Linked DNA regions of Homo sapiens: all the other regions are linked to region 2. The links are contacts of gene promoters, found by promoter capture Hi-C in blood cells and fetal thymus (Javierre and others, 2016). All regions are on one chromosome and are shown on one strand. Each heading gives the region's core, a stretch centred on a gene start or on the middle of the fragment in contact. The rest is flanking DNA. Distances are from core to core; before and after follow the strand shown.

Region 1 (4,032 bases), core at 1,205-3,704, 150 kb after region 2:
AGCCTTGGAGCCAGATCATTTCCTCCATCAAAGTTCTGAACAGTGATTAGATCATTCTTCAGTTTTATTTTATCTACATCTAATTAAAATTGTTTGTTTCAGCGTCTCCTTATTGCAAAAGAATTTGGAGATAAAGCAGCTGAAAGAAGAGCATATAGCAACCTTGGAAATGCATATATATTTCTTGGTGAATTTGAAACTGCCTCGGAATACTACAAGTTAGTCTAATATTTCTGTAGATAAATGTAAAATGAATACTCAGTCCCATTAATTCATAGGCTTTAGGTTTAAAATCTGATTGTAGCAGAACTTTTGGCATCTAAGCCTCAATTTCCTTATCTGTAACAGAATATATCAATACTTCATTTTGGGGAATGCTGTGAGGATTGAATGAAATAATATACTAAACACAGTATCTGGTACACAGTGCTCAATAAATATTATTGTACATAAGATTTAATAGCAGCAGTATGACCCCTTTATAATATTGGTTTTTATCTTTAAAAGTAATTGTTTTTAAATGAAGTTTTCAACCTTTAATATCTTTTAAACCTGTTTAGCATATGTGGTGTATATTGTGTATATGCTTTATTTCACTCAGTTATGGGTTAGAAGAGAGGCCAAAAGAAAGCCTTGTAACAAAAATATTTATAGTCTATACCAGTGATCACTGAATTTTTTTCTCTACCTTCCCACCCTCTTATTGAGCAGTTCTCCCTTTACCCTCTTTCTGCCTATATTTGACTGTCACTGTAAGCTGAGTCCCCCATTCACTTACCTGAAGCATTTACAATCCCAGCTTCTTCTGTGGCAGGATCTCTCTTATCAGTAGATTTGAGACATAGATGATAGAAAGTTTAGACAGCTTCAAGTTGCCTGATCTGTGCTTTCTAGATTGAGTTTTCCCTAGTTAGTGGGGATTGAAGCCTCTTACAGATTTTGGGTAGAAGGCAGTTTGACTAAACCGAAGACACAGTGATTGATTTGTATTTTGTTAAAGAAGCCAATATGAGACAGTTCTGGATAATTTGTCATCTTCATAAAAAAGGTAAAATTGTTTTAGGCCTATCTAAAAAAATTAAATAGCATTCCACTTTGCTTTAAACATCAACTAATGGTTAATATTTGTTGGTTAGGTTAGTTAGATATGAAATAGCCTCCCAAATAAAATATATCACTGTGTACTATGTGAAGGAGTATATATTTTGATTTTAAATATAAAAATTTCCTATATTTAAAGCCAAGGGATATAGAGAAGTCTTAATTATTAAATGGTGTATCTGTGTTAAATACTGAAAGGTTCTATTATAAAATGGATAGTGGCTATTTGACTAAAGAAGCATGAATATAAAGTAATGAAACTTAGTTTTTTTCCTCCCAATAAGCAGGCTAGAACTCAGAACTTTATATATATTCCAAGTCGTTGGTTAGAAATATTTTTAGAACTCTTCTTTAGATTTTTTTTTTTTTTTTTTTTTTAAATACGGAGTTTTGCTCTTGTCGCCCAGGCTGGAGTGCAATGGCACAATCTTGGTGCACTGCAACCTCGGCCTCCCCGGTTCAAGCGATTCTCCTGCCTCAGCTTCTGAGCAGCTGGGATTACAGGTGTCTGCCACCACGCCCAGCTAATTTTTGTATTTTTAGTAGAGACGGGGTTTCGCCATGTTGGCCAGGCTAGTCTGGGACTCCTGACCTCAAGTGATCCGCCCACCTCAGCCTCCCAAAGTGCTGGGATTACAGGCGTGAACCACCACACCCAGCCTGGAATTGTTATCAGGGCCAAACAAGAAGGCTAACAATGTAGATCCATATCCTTCCGGATACAAAGCAGTAGTTTGGTAAACCTATGTTAGTAATTGAATTTGGTTCCAGAAAGATTTCTGATCATTTACAAATCAACTGTACCATCAAAGAATAATGGTATGCCAGAAAGCATTATGCCACAGGATCTGAAAGCAATTCCAAAAGTCTTTCAAAAATATTTGAAAAGACAGGCAACATTAGAATAAGTAGGTAGCCTCCCAAGGTGACAGATTTGAAGGTATCATCATTAAATATGTAACTTTAGATTTGTTTGCTTAAAAAAAGCTATCACGTTACCGCATAGTAATTTGTCATATAGTTATAAGTGATATGAAGTAATTATACTATTTGACAGAAATAATGGGAGGGTCATTTAAATTACTGAATCCAAAAGCATCTATAGGTTTAAGCACTGATAATAACACATTAACATTTATACAGCAACTACTATGCACAAGATGCTATTCTAAGCACTTTATACATATTAATTTAATCCTCACAAAAATCCTTCGAGATATTTCCCCCATTTTATATAAGAAGAGACTGGTATACAGAGAGATTGAGTGACTTTGCCCTTAGCTTAGTAATTGGCAAAGTTGGGATTTAAACCCAGTCTAGCTCCAAGATCTATGCTCTTAACTGCTACGCTAGCTTCTCACTGGCAATACCACAGGTAGAATTTGGGTAATGTTTGGATGTAGTATTCAGTATTTTTCATGAGTTGGTGACTAATGCCCGATACATAAGAATTTTACCTAAGTGGTGACTAATAGCCTACACATAAGAATTTTACCTAAATATTTTAAATTTTGACAATGCAAAGGTGACGGTATGATTGAAAACAGATGTCATGTGGAAAAAAGCCTCTTTTAGCTATTGCCAATACTAAAGGGAAAGTTTTTTTAAATGTTAAAGATATTATGTTAATCTCTAGAACCTCTTGATTTTATGTTTCAATACTCCTTTACTTTGATGAATTGTTAGGATTCTCAAATTTATTCTAAAAGTCTTGAATCTTCTTTCTGTGTTTCAAAAACGTCTTTTCATTTTGTCTAAAAGTAATGGAGAAAGTACGGGATATGAATATTAGGCTCTCAGAGATTTAAAGACAGCAGAAAGCAGCAGAGAGGAAAAATGAGAGTTTTGTTTTGTGATTCTTAAAGCCCAAACTGAGAATGATCATTATATAAGAATTAATTTCTTCTTGTAGGAAGACACTACTGTTGGCCCGACAGCTTAAAGACCGAGCTGTAGAAGCACAGTCTTGTTACAGTCTTGGAAATACATATACTTTACTTCAAGACTATGAAAAGGCCATTGATTATCATCTGAAGCACTTAGCAATTGCTCAAGAGCTGAATGATAGGTATGTTTTACGTCTTTTTACCATAACTAAGGTAAAATATAGATGCATTATTGAATCCCTAGAATTTTTCCTTTGTTTCTTTTCCTTTGTTTTCCTTAAAATCCCTTTTAAGGAATTTTCTTTCAGTGATATCCTCTGTATATCATTGTATGAAGGGCTAGTCTGTGATAGAGGATTAGTCTGGTTCCATATGCCCTTGACCCAAGATCAATGACTAGGTCCCAAACTCAATTACCTCTTCAGAAGTCTTCCTGGTGAAACCCCGTATCTACTAAAAATACAAAAATTAGCCGGGTGTGGTGGCGCACGCTTGTAATCCCAGCTACTCAGGAGGCTGAGGCAGGAGAATCGCTTGAACCCAGGAGGTGGAGGTTGCAGTGAGCTGAGATCACGCCACTGCGCTCCAGCCTGGCGACAGAGCAAGACTGCATCTCAAAAAAAAAAAAAAAAAAGTTTTCCTAACTACATAAGTGTGGGAATTGTGGTGAACTTAGAGATAATGTCCAGTGTGAAGGGGGCAACTGCTACCCAACTCCAACTAATTGTTGCCAGCCAGGAATGAAAATCCGTTATGTCCACATCTTCCTGTTTTTTAAAGAGAAGCTGGAAGTGCTGAGTTTTATATGAAATCTGATTTTTAAATGTTAGTGGCTAATTCAGTTTTTTTGTTTTACTGTATTAAAAAACATTATTTTCCAGCATTTAGTCTGTGATGTTTGCTTTAGAAGATCGATTTTGTTTTTACCTCAGTATGAGAGAGAACTTTTCGATGCAGATGTTCAAAATGAAGTATGCTACCTCAAGAGGTAGTGCGTTCTCTCTCCCTGCTGCTCAAACACACACTGAATAATTACCTGGTAGGG
Region 2 (3,874 bases), core at 529-3,028:
TTTTTCTTATGGATTGGGGCTTCACCCTGCTAAACTAAGCAGAACCTAACTTAAAATGAAAAGGGAGAGGGAAATCATATGTGCACTTGTTTAAAACATTGAGCAACTGAATCAATTTAGAGTAGGTTTAAAGGAGGTCAGGGCTCCAGCTTCTATTCTCATATAAGCCTTGAACAGAAAAACCACTCAGCCATAGGTTGTGCCAGAACCCATTTTATGGCCTTTTTTATTGTTAGATACAGGGTCTCATTCTGTTCCCCAAACTGGAGTACAGTTGCATGATCATAGCTCACTGCAGCCTGGAACTCCCAGGCTCAAGCAGTCGTCCTACGTCAGCCTCGCAAGTAGCTACGACTCCTCAGCTTGCAGGTAGCATGCGCCATCATGCCCAGCTAACTTTTTTATTAATTTTTTTTTTTTTTTTGGTGGAGACAGCAGTCTTGCTATGTTGCCCAGGCTGGTCTTAAACTCCTGGCCTCTATCAGTCCTCCTGCCTAGGCCTCCCAAAGTGCTGGGATTACAGGTGTGAGCCACCATGCCCAGCCTGTTCTTAATTCTTCATTTGCCTTTCCTCTCCTAAAAATTGCAGGTTACCCCACAGACTACTCTATTGCTTTCCATGTAGCCCAAGCCTGATCTTTGTTCCCACTCCACCACTAAGTGCATCCTTGGCAAGTTACTTGACTTCATTAAGCCTCAGTTTCCTTGTTGTAAGTGTTGCTTTGAGGATCAGTGAGGTAATCTACTTAGCATGGTGCCTGGCATATGGTAAGTAAGCACTCAGTAAATATTAGACATTATTATTAGTAGTAGTATCTAACCACTTCTACTTCCCTGTGTGACCAATTTGAATCTTTACAGCCACTGGTTCTTTGCAAATCCTTCTAGGAAAGCCTACTTTCTGCCAATGTCACATGGTTATCTCACAGTTAGGGCTCTTAGCAACTAAACTGATCTCACTTACGTTTGATTACTTTGATTTAAAGTCCCAAAGGAACCATCTCAGTAAACAGATCTCTACCTAAACTTTCTGAGCTCAGATCTCCTCCTCTGTGAATCAACTTTCAACAATAATTGTAGATTCTGAAGCATTAACAGGCCCTCCCTACATTTGTTGCATAAATTTGTTAATAAATGATTATTCTTTTGTTGGTTCATTTATGTATATCTTATCATTAAGGCATTCAATTTTTAAACTAAGTTTTAACTACCTGCAGCATTCCAGGAATTGTGCTCTTTAATTAGATTGTAAATTATTCAGGGGAAAGAGTTGATCTCTCATTTCTTTGAGTTTCCTAAAAGTCCAGCACAGTTCTTGGCACACTGGAGGGAACCTCACAGTTCTACGCAATTACTGTGTCCTTGAAAAAATGAATGAAATAATCATTTGGGGACAGTACATTTTCCATTGGGTAGTTGGGCTGGCTACTGAGTGAAGTCTATTATGAATCGCCTTGCGAAGTGAAGGGTTCTTCTGTAATGGGGAGGATCCTCCAGTCTTCGTGTATGTGTGAACTCGGAATTTCATAGACGGCCTTGGCTCACGATCGGTTTGGCACTTCGCGTTCCTAGGCCACAGGACGTCGAACCTCGGGCGACAGCAGCCTCCCGCTAGGGGGCTCCCGACTTCCCACGGAGGTTCCACCTGTACTGCGCAGCCTCCGTCCGGGAGTGGGCGGAAATTCCCTTGCTGACGCGCGTGACGTCACCGGAGGGCGCGGTCTGCTAGAGGGGGTGGGGCATTCCCCTGCAGCAAGGGGCGGGGCCACCCCAACGCCGCTTCTGCGGCCAAAGTAGGTTGGGAGTGGAAGGTGGTGGCTGCTGCTCCGCAGTGTCGGGAAGATGGCGCCGCCGGTGGCAGAGAGGGGGCTAAAGAGCGTCGTGTGGCAGAGTGAGTGCGGTGGGGTAGGGGTTGAGAGAGGGAAGGCCGGGAGGCTGCCGTGCCGGGCCTCGTTTTGCAGCCCCAACCCAGCGGTCTGTTGAGGAGCCGCCGCGAGCACTTGTTGCTTTGGGACCTGTGTGAGGACTTCTTCCTGCTTTCCTGCCCTGCCTTATTCCTTGCCAGCACCAGGGATGGGCGGGGTGCGACGGGACGCGGCCTTCTCGTTGGCGTCGGGCACCCCCTCGCCTCGGCCGCGCTCTGGCCGCGAAGCTCCGCCCCGGGTGAGCCGCCCGGCCCGGCTTTCCCTCCCGCGGAGCCCGTGCGTGCCCTCGGCCGCGCTCCCCACTCTTCTCCGCTCCCGTCCGCGCTCCACCAGTTGGGGATGTCTCTCCATCCGAGACAATTCGGGCGCTGTTTATTCCGCCCCCATCTCCACCCCACACTGGAGTTTGCAAGGACTGTTTATTCTGCTTATTCGTGTTAGTATCAACCCGTGCTTTTCAAAAAACCTCACTGTTTAACAGACTCATCTTCCCCTATTCCGAGAGGAGCCTACTTTCTGAAAAGTTCTTGAGAAGAGACCATTGGAATGACCGGTGTCCAGCCGTGACATCTTCCTGCATAGCCTGGGCAAGAGCCGCTCCTTCCGTTTTCCCTACTCTCGGGGGCCCCTCCCTGCTGTTAGGACCGGACTCCTTATTGGTTACTGATGTTCTGCGGTATCATCCACAACTTTCATAAACATCGCTCCAAACCTAGGTCTGGCAGGTTAGAGAAAGAATGAAACCACCCAACAGGAATAACCATCATTGTTTGGTATCTCTGAGTTCAAGATAATTATGGCCTAGTAGTGGAAAGGGAGTAGCATCTAATTAGTATTTCTTAGTCCAACTTGTTGAACAAAAAACAAATGATTTAGTCAGCAGAATTCTGGGAGTTAGAGTTCCTTGTCTAAAATTAAAAATCCAAATCAGTAACTGGGATAGTGCTTAACATATAGCAGGCACTAAGCAAATGTATAAATAGGTGAAAAATATGAAATTATCTTTTAAAAGATTAGATAATTTTAAGGTTGGCATTTGCTTTTTCAAGATTTACATGGCTGACTTAAGATTTGAGATGTTTTAAAACAATGGTATTTAAATACATTTATGTGAAAATGGGTAACAAATTGTGTTGTATAATTTCCAAGATATATATGTGATTAACATCCGCATGTATGTATTTAAGCCAGTTCTTTACATATTGAATCATAAGCTTTTCCCTTTTTCACATTTTCCTTCTGATCCTCATACAGATAAAGACATTGTTTTTATTATCTGTCATTCTGTGACTTCCTTTTTTTTAAACAACTGACATTGACTCAACATTTTTCATGTTGCTTCACAATCTCGTAATTAACATTTTAAATTGCTTTTTAAATACCTTGAGGTGGCAAAAAATTTTGATAGCAGAAAAGAAAAGAAAAAATTATGGCCAGGTGCAGTGGTTCACGCCTGTAATCCCAACACTTTGGGAGGCCGGGGCAAGATGATCACCTGAGCCTAGGAGTGGGCAACAAAGTGAGACCCCATCTCTACAAAAAAATTTTAAAATTAACCATGTTTGGTGACATGCACCTGTGTTCCCACCTACATGGGAGGCTGAGGCAGGAGGATCCCTTCAGCCCAGGAGGCTGAGGCTGCAGTGGACATTGATTGTGCCACCGCACTCCAGCCTGGGTGACAGAGCAAGACCCTGAGTCTAAATAAATAAATAAATAGCTAGCGTAAGCCCGGGCACAGTGGCTCACGCCTGTAATTACAGCACTTTGGGAGGCCAAAGCAGGTGGATTGCTTGAGCTCAGGAGTTCGAGACCAGCCTGAGCAACATGGTGAAACTCTCTCTCTATCAAAAATACAAAAATTAGCCAGGTGTGGTAACGCACACCTGTGGTCCCAGCTACTCGGGAGGCTGAAGTGGGAGGATCGCTGGAGCCTGGGAAGTTGAGGC
Region 3 (4,019 bases), core at 287-2,786, 190 kb before region 2:
ATTTATCAGTGCACATGGACAGAGTAGTCCTGCGAATATGAGACTCAAAGAAAGACCAGAGGGTTGAGACTTAAATATCCTTTTTGTAGGGGAGAGGTAAAGGGGGAGTGTACGCATTTTTAAGGGGTAGTAAATGCTTTTCAAGGGAATTGAATAAACCTGTAAGAATTGTCACACCTCTGGCAGTAAGCAGTCTTAGCACATGTCTATTCACTCTGTTGTTTTACCTGAGAGTTAACACACTTAGGATAGGTCTATAAATTCAGGTCATTTCAAGAAACATGTATTGAATACCCACTAGGTACTGGGCTATTTAGAAAAGATACAAAGATGATCAGCAAACCATCCCTGCCTTTAAGAAACTTGAATTATAAGTACTGGAGTAGATACTTAGCCTCAACATTCATTCCACCATCCTATCTGAAGAAGTTGGAAAGCTGAAAATTACATTTCTCAGACTCCTTTGCCACTCAATTTTTGGGTGCAAATAAGGCCTGCCAAATAAATTTCCTTATGAAAACACAGGTGCAAGTGAAATGGAGGCTCTCTTCTTACTGCTGTGTCACTTGCAAGCAAGGTGTGATGACATGCCTGTGGCATTCAGACTCCTCATAGTCTTGACAGGTGTGAGCCAGTGGTGGTGGCAGCAGCAGTAGCAGTGTTCTAGTGTCAGCTTCCCATCCCAGCTGCAGTGTATGTTAGTCAGAATAAACTAGACTTATGCTGTAGTGACAAGCATCCCCCAAAATCTCAGTGGCTTCATATAATAAAAGTTGCTTTCTCACAGACAAAATGTTTCCTGCAGGTGTGGGCAGTTGCTCTCCATGTGCTGACTTAAGAAATCTGGGCTGCTTCAATCTTGTGGCTGCTACATCTTAACCCAAGGTCTCCTCTATAACTATTGTGGCAGGGAAGAGGTAGTCTAGAGAACTGCTCAAAGGCTTTTCACTGTTTCATCCTGGAAGTGACGTGTTACTTCTCACATTTTATTGGCTAGACCTCATCACAAGGCCCCACTAACCGCAAGGGAATTGGGAACTGTAAACTCCCATATGCTCAGAAATCAAGGAGGACCGGATACTAGTGAACACTAGTAATGTTTACCACAAAGCATGTGACTTTGAATTCGACAGTCTGCTGACCTCAACCCCTTCAGCCCTTCCACAGATTTCAGAAGCAGTGAAGTGCCTGAATGAAATCCCTTTTTTTTTTTTTTTTTGAAACATCCAGAGTGGTTTCAGCTTCCTATGGTGAACCCTGACTGTATCCTTTGTGTGCTAGTGGCTTTCCATCCCCTTACCTCCAACCATTCTCTACCTTTCAGTGCCCTACTTTGTGCCCCAGGAGTCTGTCCTGTATGAACTGCATGTTCCGAGCCCCTCTACCCTCTGGCCTTGGTTGGTTTTGGATCATGGGAAGCACCACCAAGAGATCAGAAAGTAGGAGGTGAGAGAAATCAGGATATTTATCCCTTCTTCCTTTCAACTTCTCACCAGACTGTGGGTCCCTTACCCTGTCAACTCTGTGAAGAGTCCTTTCATTAAATTTTCCCCATTTAAACACATTGAATATGATATCTGTTTCCTGCCTTGACTATGACTCCTATCAGGGGTTTAATAATCAAACCATGAGTCTAAAAAACAGTAACAGACTGTCTCCTATCTTCCATTTTATAAAGTAGAAGAGCTTTACAAAATGTAAATCTGAATATATCATGCTTCTTCTTTAAAACTTCAATGGCTCTTTGTTAACCCCTGTCACTGTACCCAACTCTAAGTTGCAGCCAGACAGAACTAATTTCAGTTCCCTCTGCAACATGGTCTCTCTTCCTTTGAGCCTCTGCACAGACACTACCTCCTTCCTGGAAACTGCTCCCCACCCATGCTCATTATTCAGGCCTCAGCTTAAAGGCCTGAATTCAGGCTTCACTTACCCTAGAAGGCATTCCATAAACCTACTACTTATCCCTGTTAGCTTTTATAGTCTCCCACAGCAGTCTCCACTCACCATCATACACAGACAGCACTCAGTGTTACATTGTACTGCAACTGCCTGCTTACTTCTCTGTGTCCTCCAGTAGACCGTGAGATCTAAGACAGGGACGGCATTTCAAATCCATAGGACCTATTAAGGTGCTTGGCACCTAATAGACACTCAATAAATATTGGATAGTTCCTGAATGTTATTGAAAAAGATTGAACTGTCCTCCTCTGGTCACCATTCTCTCTCTCTTTTCATTCGCTGACAAAAAAATCAGAAAAACATCAATAAAAATATAATTTTTATTTACCCACATTACTTTGTCACTATCTTACTTTTCACTGTCATCTTTTCACTTACTTTGTCACTTTTCATCTTACTTTGTCACTATCTTTTATGATGACTTCTCTTGCCAAGATTACCAATGACCTCCTAGACCTTCAATTCAGTAGCTTCTTTTCAGTCCAAATCCTCTGGGACTGCTCTGCAGCACTCTCTTGAAATGGTCCTCTGTCCTACATGGATCACAGATTGCTCTCTCTCTTTCTTTCTCTCTCTCTTCTCTCTCTCACACACACATACTCACATACCACACACACACACTTTAGTTGATCTGTTTGCATATCTCTGTTTTTCTCCATTCCTTTATAAGCCCCTATGTCTTATTCATTTGCATCTCTAGTACCCAGCATAGTGCCTGGCACACAATAGAACTTTGTAACTACGAATGTTACATGATTAAAACCGTCTGGGCTTCCAGGCCATCTCTTTCTTCATCTCCTTTTTCTCTTGACTGCTTGTTCTTAGGCACCTTCACGATCTCCTCTTTGCCTACCCTTTAAATATTCTTCAGAGTAACTCATCCTTATCCACCTTTTGGGCTTCAGCCATCAGCGATTACCTCAATTCCCAAATGTATATTTTCAATTGCCAATGCATTTTTATGAGCTAAGGCTGCCTCTCTCTCCCTAGATGTACTGCAAGCAGATCCCATAAAGACTCATTATCTCTTCCATTCCCAACCTGCCCTCCTCTTGCTTTCAATGTTCAGTCAATGAAATTAACATTCATCCAGTGCTCTAAATGACAAATCTCAAAGTCCCCAAATGCATCTCACTGTCTTTGCCCCCTGTCCTGCAGGGTAAGAAGCTTTATCCATTACCAAATCCCCACCCCCGAACCTGCCTCTGAATCTTTTTTTTTTTTTAATTTATTTCTCCTAGAACAACTTACCCCACTTTGTCCCAAATCATTTTCATCCTTTGAAATTCAGAAAACTGATTAACTTCAATTAATTGCTTCTCTGAGTTCTACATAGCTTGGTGCTAGGTTGTGTTTTTTTAATGACCTGTCTAAACATGTCTTCCTCACTAGATTGTAAAATTCTTGAGGGCAGTTATTGGCTTTTGGTTATGGGGTCTAGCCGATGATTGACATTTTAAGCAATTTTTTTATATGAATGAATGAGTAAACGAGTAAACTGAGAAAGAAAATATTTTCAATTAAACCCTTTCAGAATTACTGTGGCAGAATCTGAGTGAAAATGACAATAACTCAGTTTAAAAACATGAACATCACGTAACCAACTTTGTAACATTCATTGTAACAATACATGCATGATTACAGAAGGCAGGTAATTGTTATTCCCCTAGGGAGATTTTTTTTTAAGCCTGCTCTGAAGATTTTGTTTTGTTTTTAAGACAGGGGCTTGTTCTGTTGCCCAGGCTAGAGTGCAGTGGCGCGATCTCCGATCATTGCAAGCTCCGCTTCCCCGGCTCAGGCTAACCTCCCTCCTCAGCCTCCCGAGTAGCTGGGATTACAGCGTAGCCATGCCAGACTGCCTGCAGAATTTGATTTTAAGCATTTCAGTTCTCAGTATAGACAGACAAATTTTTAAAGGGAGGGTATTATTTTAACTGCTTCTTTGCTCTTTTATCTTTTGTCCTGGGTGACAGGAACTAGATAAGCTATACCCCAGAGAAAGCGCCTGCAGCAGTACGGTGCCTGGGCCCTTGATAGTCCCTCAGCACATCATTTTC

Evidence for each region. The method cuts DNA at HindIII sites, captures the fragments that hold promoters and counts their contacts. A CHiCAGO score of 5 or more calls a contact.
Region 1: a fragment that was not itself captured here is called in contact with the fragment with the promoter of STXBP3 in region 2 in 1 of 17 cell types (fetal thymus); the score reaches 5.1 in fetal thymus.
Region 3: a fragment that was not itself captured here is called in contact with the fragment with the promoter of STXBP3 in region 2 in 4 of 17 cell types (activated CD4 T cells, fetal thymus, non-activated CD4 T cells and 1 more); the score reaches 6.0 in activated CD4 T cells.

The regions. Positions count from the first base shown.
Region 1 is chr1:108,898,777-108,902,808 of GRCh38, forward strand. GPSM2 (G protein signaling modulator 2) reads left to right here. Exons shown (of 15, transcript NM_013296.5): 7 at 103-218; 8 at 3,014-3,169. Among named protein-coding and RNA genes, the nearest start is that of GPSM2, 24 kb to the left of the region's middle. The HindIII fragment of the contact is 5,386 bases long and covers 1-4,032 here.
Region 2 is chr1:108,744,896-108,748,769 of GRCh38, forward strand. It overlaps STXBP3 (syntaxin binding protein 3), which reads left to right and starts at 1,779. Exons shown (of 19, transcript NM_007269.4): 1 at 1,779-1,891. The coding sequence starts at 1,843. RefSeq lists enhancers at 1,458-2,028, 1,551-1,960 and a silencer at 2,161-2,280. The HindIII fragment of the contact is 6,658 bases long and covers 1-3,137 here.
Region 3 is chr1:108,555,626-108,559,644 of GRCh38, forward strand. No RefSeq gene overlaps it. Among named protein-coding and RNA genes, the nearest start is that of EEIG2, 2.5 kb to the right of the region's middle. The HindIII fragment of the contact is 3,181 bases long and covers 1-3,127 here.